Linked DNA regions of Homo sapiens: region 1 is linked to region 2. Evidence: promoter capture Hi-C in human tissues and cell types (Jung and others, 2019). All regions are on one chromosome and are shown on one strand. Each heading gives the region's core, a stretch centred on a gene start or on the middle of the fragment in contact. The rest is flanking DNA. Distances are from core to core; before and after follow the strand shown. Region 1 has its middle 4.4 kb from the start of PEX39. Region 2 holds the start of LRRC73 (leucine rich repeat containing 73).

The links. Contacts are between HindIII fragments. The study calls those that stand out against the background at their distance.
Region 1: a contact is called between a fragment that was not itself captured here and the fragment with the promoter of LRRC73 in region 2, in 1 of the 25 tissues and cell types used here (dorsolateral prefrontal cortex).

The regions. Positions count from the first base shown.
Region 1 is chr6:42,892,510-42,897,966 of GRCh38, reverse strand. No RefSeq gene overlaps it. Among named protein-coding and RNA genes, the nearest start is that of PEX39, 4.4 kb to the right of the region's middle. The HindIII fragment of the contact is 6,847 bases long and covers 1-5,457 here.
Region 2 is chr6:43,507,097-43,512,964 of GRCh38, reverse strand. LRRC73 (leucine rich repeat containing 73) reads left to right here and starts at 2,619. Exons shown (of 6, transcript NM_001012974.4): 1 at 2,619-3,451; 2 at 4,045-4,205; 3 at 4,545-4,667; 4 at 5,039-5,139; 5 at 5,287-5,509; 6 at 5,657-5,868. The coding sequence starts at 3,180. The coding sequence ends at 5,727. YIPF3 (Yip1 domain family member 3) reads left to right here. Exons shown (of 9, transcript NM_015388.4): 7 at 91-204; 8 at 402-525; 9 at 650-1,133. The coding sequence ends at 798. RefSeq lists silencers at 2,462-2,751, 2,772-3,041. The HindIII fragment of the contact is 5,504 bases long and covers 1,933-5,868 here.

The sequences.
Region 1 (5,457 bases), core at 1,041-3,540, 610 kb after region 2:
TGGATTTTACCTAAAATTACTAGACATAAACCTTTAGAAAATGCTCTGACAGTGTTTACTGATGGTTCCAGCAATGGAAAAGCGGCTTACACCAGGCCAAAAGAACGACTCATTGAAACTCAATATCACTGGGCTCAAAGAGCAGAGTTGGTTGCTGTCATTACAGTGTTACAAGATTTTAATCAGCCTATTAACATTGTATCAGATTCTGCATATGTAGTACAGGCTACAAAGGATGTTGAGACAGCCCTAATCAAATATAGTATAGATGATCAGTTAAACCAGCTGTTTAATATGTTACAACAAACTGTAAGAAAAAGAAATTTCCCATTTTATGTTACTCATATTCGAGCACATACTAATTTACCAGAGCCTTTAACTAAAGCAAATGAACAAGTTGACTTGCTAGTATCATCTGCATTCCTGGAAGCACAAGAACTTCATGCCTTGACTCATGTAAATGCAACAGGACTAAAAAATAAATTTGACATCACATGGAAACAGGCAAAAAATATTGTACAACATTACACCCAGTGTCAGATTCCACACCTGCCCACTCAGGAGGCAGGAGTTAATCCCAGAGGTCTGTGTCCTAATGCGTTATGGCAAATGGATGTCACACATGTACCTTCAGTTGGAAAATTGTCATTTCTCCATGTGACAGTTGATGCTTATTCACATTTTGTAAGGGCAAACTGCCAGACAGGAGAAAATACTTCCCATGTTAAAAGACATTTATTATCTTGTTTTGCTGTCATGGGAGTTCCAGAAAAAATTAAAACGGATAATGGGCCAGGATACTGTAGTAAAACATTTCAAAAATTCTTAAATCAGTGGAAAATTACACATACAACAGGAATCCCTTATAATTCCCAAGGACAGGCCATAATTGAAAAAACTGATAGAACACTCAAAGCTCAATTGGTTAAACAAAAAAAGGAAAAAAGACAGTAAGGAGTATAACACTCCCCAGATGCAACTTAATCTAGCACTCTATACTTTAAATTTTTTAAACATTTATAGAAATCAAACCACTACTTCTGCAGAACAACATTTTACTGGTAAAAAGAATAGCCCACATGAAGGAAAACTGATTTGGTGGAAAGACAAGAAAAATAAGACATGGGAAATAGGGAAGGTGATAACATGGGAGAGAGGCTTTGCTTGTGTTTCACAAGGAGAAAATCAGCTTCCTGGTTGGATACCCACTAGAAATTTAAAGTTCTACAATGAACCCCTTGGAGATGCGAAGAAAAGCGCCTCTGCGGAGACAAAAAACCCTCAATTGAGCATCATCGACTCGCCAGGTAAATAAAATGGTGATATCAGAAGAACAGATGAAGTTGCCATCCACCAAGGAAGCGGAGCCACCGACTTGGGCCCAATTAAAGAAGCTGACACAGTTAGCTAAAAAAAGCCTAAAGAACACAAGGGTAATGTGAACTCCAGAGAATATACTGCTTACAGCTTTGATTATTATATCAACGGTAGTAAGTCTCCCCATGTCTGCAGGAGCAGCTGCAACTAATTATACTTACTGTGCCTATGTGCCTTTCCCACCCTTAATTTGGGCAGTCACATGGATGGATAATCCTGTTGAAGTATATGTTAATAATAGGGCATGGGTACCAGGCCCCACAGACGATTGTTGCCCTGCCCAACCTAAAGAAGAAGGAATGATGATAAATGTTTCCACTGGGTATCATTATCCTCCTATTTGCCTAGGGAAGGCACCAGGATGTTTAATGCCTACAACCCAAAACTGGTTGGTAGAAGTACCTACCGTCAGTGCCACCAGTAAATTTACTTATCACATGGTAAGTGGAATGTCACTCGGGCCACAGATAAATAATTTAGAGGACGCTTCTTATCAAAGATCATTAAAATCTGGGCCTAAGGGGAAGCCTTGCCCCAAGGAAATTCCCAAAGAATCAAAAAGCCCAGAAGCCTTAGTTTGGGAAGAATGTGTGGCTAATACTGCGGTGGTATTACAAAACAATGAATTTGGAACTACTATAATATTATATAATAGTTATATATTATATTATATTATATACAATTATATTATATATAATTGTATGGGCCAGACTCACTCATGTTTACAGGCCCCATCCATCTGGCCCATTAATCCGGCCTATGATAGTGATTTAATTGAAAGGCTGGACCAGGTTTATAGAAGGCTAGAATCACCCTATCCCTGGAAATGGGGTGAAAAGGGAATTTCATCACCTCGACCAAAGTTAGTTAGTCCTGTTACTGGTCCTAAACATCCAAAATTATGGAAGCTTACTGTGGCCTCGCACTACATTAGAATTTGGTCTGGAAATCAAGCTACAGAAACAAGAAATCGTAAGCCATATTATACTATCAACCTAAATTCCAATCTGACAATTCCTTTACAAAGTTGTGTAAAACCCCCTTATATGCTAGTTATAGAAAACATAGTTATTAAACCAGATTCCCAAACTATAACCTGTGAAAACTGTAGATTGTTTACTTGCATTGATTTGACTTTTAATTGGCAGCGCCATATTCTGCTAGTGAGGGCAAGAGAAGGTGTGCGGATCCCTGTGTCCATGGACCGACAGTGGGAGGCTTCGCCATCTTCCATATTTTAACGGAAGTATTAAAAGGAATTCTAACTAGATCCAAAAGATTTTTACTTTGATTGCAGTGATTATGGGCCTTATTGCAGTCACAGCTACTGCTGCAGCTGCTGGAATTGCTTTACACTCCTCTGTTCAAACTGCAGAATATGTAAATGATTGGCGAAAGAATTCCTCAAAATTGTGGAATTCTCAGACCCAAATAAATCAAAAATTGGCAAACGAAATTAATGATCTTAGACAAACTGTCATTTGGCTGGGAAATAGGCTCATGAGCTTGGAATATCTTTTTCAGTTACAGTGTGACTGGAATATGTCAGATTTTTGTATTACACCCCAAGCCTATAATGAGTCTGAGCATCACTGGGACATGGTTAGATGCCATCTACAGGGAAGAGAAGATAATCTTACTTTAGATATTTCAAAATTAAAATAACAAAATTTTGAGGCATCGAAAGCCCATTTAAATTTGGGAACTGAGGCAATCGTGAAAGCTACTGATGGCCTCACAAATCTTAACACTGTCACTTGGTTAAAAACCATCAGAAGTTCCACTATTGTAAATTTCATATTAATCCTTGTATGCCTGTTCTGTCTGTTGTTAGTCCACAGGTGTATCCACCAGCTCCGAAGAGACAGCGACCAGCAAGAACGGGCCATAACGACGATGGCAGTTTTGTCAAAAAGGGGGATATGTAGGGAAAAGAGAGATCCGACTGTTACTGTGTCTACATAGAAAAGGAAGACATAAGAAACTCCATTTTGATCTGTACCCTGAACAATTGTTTTGCCTTGAGATGCTGTTAATATGTAACTTTAGCCCCAACCTTGTGCTCACGGAAATATGTGTTGTATGGAATCAAGGTTTAAGGGATCTAGGGCTGTGCAGGATGTGCCTTGTTAACAAAATGTTTACAGGCAGTATGCTTGGTAAAAGTCATCGCCATTCTCCATTCTCGATTAACCAGGGGCACAATGCACTGCAGAAAGCCACAGGGACCTCTGCCCAGGAAAGCCAGGTATTGTCCAAGGTTTCTCCCCACTGAGACAGCCTGAGGTATGGCCTCGTGGGACGGGAAAGACCTGACCATCCCCCAGCCCGACACCCGTGAAGGGTCTGTGCTGAGGAGGATTAGTAAAAGAGGAAGGCCTCTTGCGGTTGAGATAAGAGGAAGGCCTCTGTCTCCTGCATGCCCCTGAGAACGGAATGTCTCAGTATAATACCCGATTGTACATTCGTTCTATTCTGAGATAGGAGAAAACCGCCCTGTGGCTGGAGGCGAGATATGCTGGTGGCAATACTGCTGTGTTATTCTTTACTACACTGAGATGTTTGGGTGGAGAGAAGCATATATCTGGCCTATGTGCACATCCAGGCATAGTACCTTCCCTTGAACTTATTTGTGACACAGATTCCTTTGCTCACATGTTTTCTTGCTGACCTTCTCCCCGCTATCACCCTGTTCTCCTGCTGCATTCCCCTTGCTGAGACAGTGAAAATAATAATCAGTAAATGCTGAGGGAACTCAGAGACTGGGGCCAGTGCAGGTCCTCCGTACGCTGAGCGCTGGTCTCCTGGGCCCAGTGTTCTTTCTCTATACTTTGTCTCTGTGTCTTATTTCTTTTTTTAGTCCCTCGTCCCACCTGACGAGAAATACCCGCAGGTGTGGAGGGGCAGGCCACCCCTTCAAAATTCTTTATTATACAACATTCAATATGGTCAGTTTCCTCCAGACTGGCTTCTCAAGCTCTTACCAAGTGCCCCCTACCCCAATTTTTTTTTTTTTAACAGAGTCTCTGTTGCTCAGGCTAGAGTGCAGTGGAACAATCTTGGCTCACTGCAGCCTCAACCTCCTGAGCTCAAGTGATACTCCAGCCTCAGCCTTCCAAGTAGCTGGAACTACTGGTGTGTGCCACCACATCCAGCCAATTTTTGTTTTTGGAGGGGGTCTCACTATGTTGCCCAGGTTAGTCTTGAACTCCTGGGTTCAAGTGATCCTCCTGCCTTGACCACTCCCAAAGTGCTGGGATTATAGGCGTGAGCCACTGCACCGGGCCTACCCCAACTTTTTATTTTGACAAGTTTCAAACCCTCACGTGGATTCACTAATTCTTAGCAATTTTGCCACATTTGCTTTCTTTCTGTCATCATGACACTTCACCTCTACATACTTCAGAATGTATTTGCTATGAACAAGGTAATTCCCACACATAACCACAATTATCACACTTGATAAATTTAACATTGATATATCGTTGTCATCTAATATATGGATCATATTCAAATTTCCCCAAGGGTAAAATGTCCTTTAGAGCTGATCTCCCCTACACAATCTTGCATCTAATCCAGGATCACTCATTGAATTTATTTATTTATTTATATTTTATTTTATTTTTGGAGACAGAGTTTCACTCTGTCTCCCAGTCGGAAGTTGCTGGCAATCACAGCTCAGTGCAACCTCCACCTACCCGGGTTCAAGCGATTCTTCGACCACTGCCTCCAGAATAGCTGGGACTACAGGTGTCCACCACCATGTTCAGCAATTTTTTTTTTTTGTATTTTTTAGTAGAGATGGGGTTTTGCTATATTGCCCAGGCTGGTCTTGAATTCCTGAGTTCAAGCAATCCACCGACCTCAGCCTCCCAAAGTGCTGGGATTAAAGGCATGAGCCACTGTGTCTGGCCTGTATTTATTTTTTATGTCTCCTTTAATCTGGGGTAGTTCTTAGCTTTTTCTTAATGTTTTATAACAACGACATCTGTAAAGTGTCCAGACCAATCATTTTGCAGAATCTCTCTCACTTTGATCTCTATTTCCTCAAGACTAGGTGGTGAGTGAACATTTTTTGGG
Region 2 (5,868 bases), core at 1,370-3,869:
CAATGGACCATGTGTTTCCCAGGGTCCCCATGAGGGGCCAGAAAGCAGCCCAACCTGAATGATTTTCCTCTCCACCATCCTCCTTCCCAGGGCTATGGCCTCTTTGGGCATTGCATTGTCCTGTTCATCACCTATAATATCCACCTCCACGCCCTCTTCTACCTCTTCTGGCTGTTGGTGGGTGGACTGTCCACACTGCGCATGGTAAGCTGGGCAAGAGGCTTCCAGGGGTGGGCTGTCCTCCCAGGGAGTTGGGGAAGACAGCCTGGAGCTGTCCATCTCACAAAGAGCCCTAAATGGGAGGGAAGAGCCCAAAGATGGTTCTGCCCTGGGTGGGGGTGTCTTGTCCCCACTCCTCACTTTGGAGCCAGGCCCTTTGAGCTGTATTCTCATGGTCCTAGGTAGCAGTGTTGGTGTCTCGGACCGTGGGCCCCACACAGCGGCTGCTCCTCTGTGGCACCCTGGCTGCCCTACACATGCTCTTCCTGCTCTATCTGCATTTTGCCTACCACAAAGTGGTAGAGGGTAAGTGGCAGGAAGGTCTGGGTGGGGGAGAATGGGAAAGCAGCTGCCTAGAGCAAGAAGCTAGATATGATGGCTGGTGGGCTGGGCCCATCTGATCCTCGCTCACCTTCCATCTTCCTTCCAGGGATCCTGGACACACTGGAGGGCCCCAACATCCCGCCCATCCAGAGGGTCCCCAGAGACATCCCTGCCATGCTCCCTGCTGCTCGGCTTCCCACCACCGTCCTCAACGCCACAGCCAAAGCTGTTGCGGTGACCCTGCAGTCACACTGACCCCACCTGAAATTCTTGGCCAGTCCTCTTTCCCGCAGCTGCAGAGAGGAGGAAGACTATTAAAGGACAGTCCTGATGACATGTTTCGTAGATGGGGTTTGCAGCTGCCACTGAGCTGTAGCTGCGTAAGTACCTCCTTGATGCCTGTCGGCACTTCTGAAAGGCACAAGGCCAAGAACTCCTGGCCAGGACTGCAAGGCTCTGCAGCCAATGCAGAAAATGGGTCAGCTCCTTTGAGAACCCCTCCCCACCTACCCCTTCCTTCCTCTTTATCTCTCCCACATTGTCTTGCTAAATATAGACTTGGTAATTAAAATGTTGATTGAAGTCTGGAACTGCAGCGGCTGATCCAGTGGTCCTCCCTGTCATCCCGCTTCCTATATACTTTCCTACTCAGTCAACAGTGGTAATGTCATATGTTCCCTTCTTCATATCCTCACCCAGGCAAGATAAAGGTGGGACAGGCCAGACTACATAGAAGGCAGTGATTGAATATCACACCTGACCCATGAAGCGGCAGGGAGGCCTCAAGCACAAAAGCCATAAGCCTGATGGAACACTGCAGCCAGCTTGAGTCTGGGCTCAGCTGCTCTCTTGGGAAGCCAAGGAAGCAGTGACAATTGAACAAAACATCCCGACTTAAACCCCGTGTCAAAACAAGGATCTTCTGCACCTGGGCATTGTGTTGATAATTTTCCTGTGGAGCTCTTAATTGAAGCCAAATTTGGCTTTGCCTTGGTGGTACTGGGGCCAGCTCCTTTTAGTTTTTCTGTCTTTCCTCTTAAAACCAACCACCACTCCTAACATAGCACCATCCACCCCCACCACCTCTTTAATATGCTCCACTTAATAAGTTAATTCAGGTGGCTAAGAGTGGGAATAGGGCCTTTGACCTCCCTTCACTATATTGAATATTATATTTTATGTAAAATAATCATCTTAACACTAGTAAATCTGGGTCAGCAGCATCTATCCCTCCTAACAAAGGGACAAACAGAGGTGCCCTTCATTTGTCCTGCGTTACACAAGTGAGTCCCCCACCACCCTGGCCAGAGGACAAAGTTGAGACAGCACCGCCTGCACCGTGCAGTGTGGCTCAGCCGCCTTCACGTCCTCACCAGTGCTCCAGGGCCCTGGCCCTGGCACCTTCTTTGTATTGGCTGCCCCAGTCTCGCGGCACGGACACACCCTCAGATGTCAACAGTGCCCTGCGTACCTGAGAAGGTGTGGCACCAGGACCTTGCATCTATCTGAGGCTCCCCTGCCCTAGGGACCCTATGGGGTACCCTTCTCCCCAGCAGCTCAAGCTGGCTCTGCCCAGCCGTGGCCCCTGGGGCCTCCCTGATGAGGCCGCCATCTTGGCGAGGAGCAAGCGGGGAAGTCCCCATGGGCCGGGATCACCACGCACGCTGCGCCTCGAGTCACGGGGGCGGGAGCGAGGCGCGGCGCGGATGAAAGGGCCCTGGGGCCTTCCAAATAGGAGGGAACAGTGCCCTGGATTCCGGCGGGGGTATGGACCTTAGGAACGGGGAAGGATGGAAGAATGGGCAGAAGCAGCAGTAACCGTGCCCAACGCCATCTCCACGGGGCGTGCCTCCATTCCGCTCCCCGTCAGCCCTACCCACTCAGCCCTGCCGCCTGCCGCCTGCCAGTTGGCTGACCCCACTCCCAAGGGAAGAGCGGCCTATCGCTCCCAGCTCCTTGCCCCGAACCACCCAGTGTACGCGAACCTCGCGGGCCGGCGTGGCCTTGGCCGGGCAGGGGGCGGGGCGAGCGCCGGTGACGCGGCCGTTGCCATGGGAACTCGCCGCCCGCTCGCTCTCTGGAGCTGGAGCCGGAGCTGCCGCCAGCCGCCCGCCTCAGGCTCTCTCTGCCAGCCGTGCGGCCAGGCCCGCGGGGTGGTCGGGGGGAGCCGGGCGGCAGAGAAGGAGGGAGCGGGTACGGCCTCCTAGCCGAGACCGGTAAGCCGAAGCCCTTGAGCCGCTCGCTGCCGCTGCCGCCGCCGCCGCCGCGACCGCGAGGGACAAGGACAAGCGCCGAGCAGCGCCTGCCCAACCCCCGGAACGCGCACCCGCCCCAACGCCCAGACACGGACCGTGCGGGCCGCCCCCGCCCCAGCGCCGCCCCACTTCAGCCCGGCCCGCGCCCTGGACGCCTCCGCACCTCTGGCCGGCTCCGGCTCAGTCCCGGTAGCTCTTCTCCGCCCCCGCCGCAGCCTCCGCCGCAGCCGCAGCCTCCGCCACAGCCGCCGCCTCCACCCCCGGCCCCACTCCGCCCGCGACCCCTGCCGGGGCCCCGACCCCGGCCCTATCCCCGGCCCCGCCCGCGGCCCCACCAACCTCCGTTCCGGCCCCGTACCCGGAGGCCCAGCCGTGGGCACGATGCTGCCCAGCTCCATCCAGATTTCGGGGGAGCCGCTGTCCGGCGCCGAGGTGCGGGACATCTGCCGCGGCCTTCGCGACAACGCCGTGCGCCTGCTCTCACTGCGCGGCTGCCGCCTCTGCGACCGCGACTTTGGCCGCATCTGCCGGGCCCTGGCCGGGGCCACGTCCCTGGCGCAGCTCAACCTTAACCTGGGCGTCGTGTCCAGCCCCAGCCGCATCAAGCAGCTGGCTGAGGCTCTGCGGACCAACCGCTCCATCCAGTCCCTCTTGTGAGTGCGCCCCCTCGCAAGGGGGTCCCGGGCACTGCACCCTTCCATACACTCCCCTGGCACCTCCTGTTCCTCCACACTCCTTCCAGTACCATCCTACCTTCACATGCCTTATGCACATACACCGTGCCTCGGCCCATGCCTTCACAGCACCCTCCAAGCACATGCTTGGACTTTGCACGCGCGACCCTAGCCGTGTTGGGATACCCACCAGTTCCTGACATGAGGTGGGGGCCGTACCTCCCCACCTAATCATCTGCATTTACTTCACTGGGGCAGCTCCTTGGTTCCCAAGGGGGAATATCCCCGTGGGGACGAGAGCCCTGCCCACTGCAGAGTTCCGGTCCACCACCCACCCACCCCTTCTCTGCCCCTCCCTGTGCAATGTCCTGGATCCCTGCCCCAGAAAACAAACCGAATTCTCCCTCTATCTGTATTCCCTGAGAATCTAGAACTTTCCTTCTCCTTTTCCAGGCCTCTCAAGCGCTGTGACTGCCCTCCCCATACCTAGGGCTGACAGAAGTGAAAGTGCCCCTTTCCCATGTAGATAGTGCGGAGGACTGCAGTAACCCTGCTCTCTCACTCTCCTCCAGCCTGCATGGGAGCCCCCTGACAGATGCGGGGCTGGCCTTGCTGAACCCAGCCCTGGCCCTCCACCCTGCCCTCGTGGCTCTGGACCTGGGGGACTGCATGCTGGGTGATGAAGCCATCAACCTCATCTGTGGCCTCCTGCCCCCAGATGGGGCCAAATCTGGTGAGCAGGACCCTGTTGAGGGCTTGGGCTAGTGTGGCAGTGATGAAAATCGAAATGCAGAGGGAAGGGGGTGTGGCCCCAGAGCTCTGATGATGTGGGCGAGAACATCTTTCTACTCCTCTCAGGAAGGGGCAGGACGGGGGGCAGCATGGAGACTCAGGAATCCAGGCTGGGGCAGGCAGAGGAAGCATGGGCCTCCTTAATGGCTCTTGACCTCTATGGTGGGGGTAAGGTGGTGCCCAGCCACTAGGGACACCCCAGAGACACAGGGATTGTGGGGAAGGGCTGGAGGAGGGCTTAACCCTCCCTATTCTGGTTTCTTGCTATGATGCTGCCCAGGCTTGAAGGAGCTAACGCTGAGTGCCAACCCTGGCATCACCCCTAAGGGCTGGAGCCGCCTTGCCATTGCCGTGGCCCACAGCTCCCAGGTCCGCGTCCTCAATCTGGATTACAACCCCCTGGGTGAGGCTCAAGAATACCCCCTTGGGCTGTCACTGCCTCATGCCCTATCCAAGAGCCTGGGACCATCAGTTGACATGGTAACCCGTACACTGGGAGAGGGAAGAGAAACGGGAGCCCCCAGGGGTCAAGGAGATAGCTTTGTGGCGGACCAGGTGACCAACAAATAGATCAAAACATCAGTCACCACCCGTGGGCCTAACTTGCTTCGTGCCTTCACTCACCAATCACAATGATCCCTTCCTGACCACCACCAATTGTCCATGTTTCCTTGGCCAGGGATTAGTATCTAAAGTTGTTAAGGCAATGGGGAAGCTATCTGTAAGGATTAGCAGGCATGTGTATGAATGTGTGCACGTGTGTTGTCTCCCCAGGTGACCATGTGGCAGGAATGCTGGCTGTAGCTGTGGCCTCTAGTCGTACCCTAGAGGTCCTAGACTTGGAGGGCACAGGGCTCACCAACCAGTCAGCTCAGGTGGGAAGTCGTCATGTTTGGGCACGGCCAGGGGATGGGGTGGAGGTTAGTTTATGTGTCTGATGACATACCTAAGGCATGGCAGGTTGAGGTCTGAGGACCTGCCTTAACTGTGTTCATCCTTTTCCATATTCTTCCCCACTTCAGACCCTGCTGGACATGGTAGAAAATTACCCCACAGCTTTGCGGAGCCTGGTGTTGGCTGAGAACAGCATTAGCCCAGAGCTGCAGCAACAGATCTGTGACCTCCTCTCTGAGGGAGAGGAGGAGGAGGAAGTGGCAGGAGGGGCTGGCGACACCCAGGAATGGGAGAGAGGGCGGGAGCCTGCTGCCCACCAGAGAGGCAGCAGCTCCTGGATGTGCCCCAGCGGTAAGAACCCAGAGGGTTGATCAGAGCCAGGTCTGGAAGAGGCTCGGGACAAGGGAGAGTGGGTGTGCAGAACCTAGGCTCTCACCTATCTGTGGTCCCCATTGGAGGAAGGAATGGTGGTCTGAACACTTCTCTGCCCTTCCACAGATCCCAGCTCTCAGATGGTGCTAATGACGTCAGGACTAGGGGACAGTCTGTTGGCTGAGACCGAGATGTGACTCTCCACTGGGCCTCTGCACACCATTTCACTTATCTATGTCCCGAGCACCTTGCCCCAGATATCAGGGTCAGGCCCTGGGACTTGGGAGGGAACTGGGGTCAGGGGCTGCATGGGGGCTCTGGCAGCTCCTGGCAGTGTG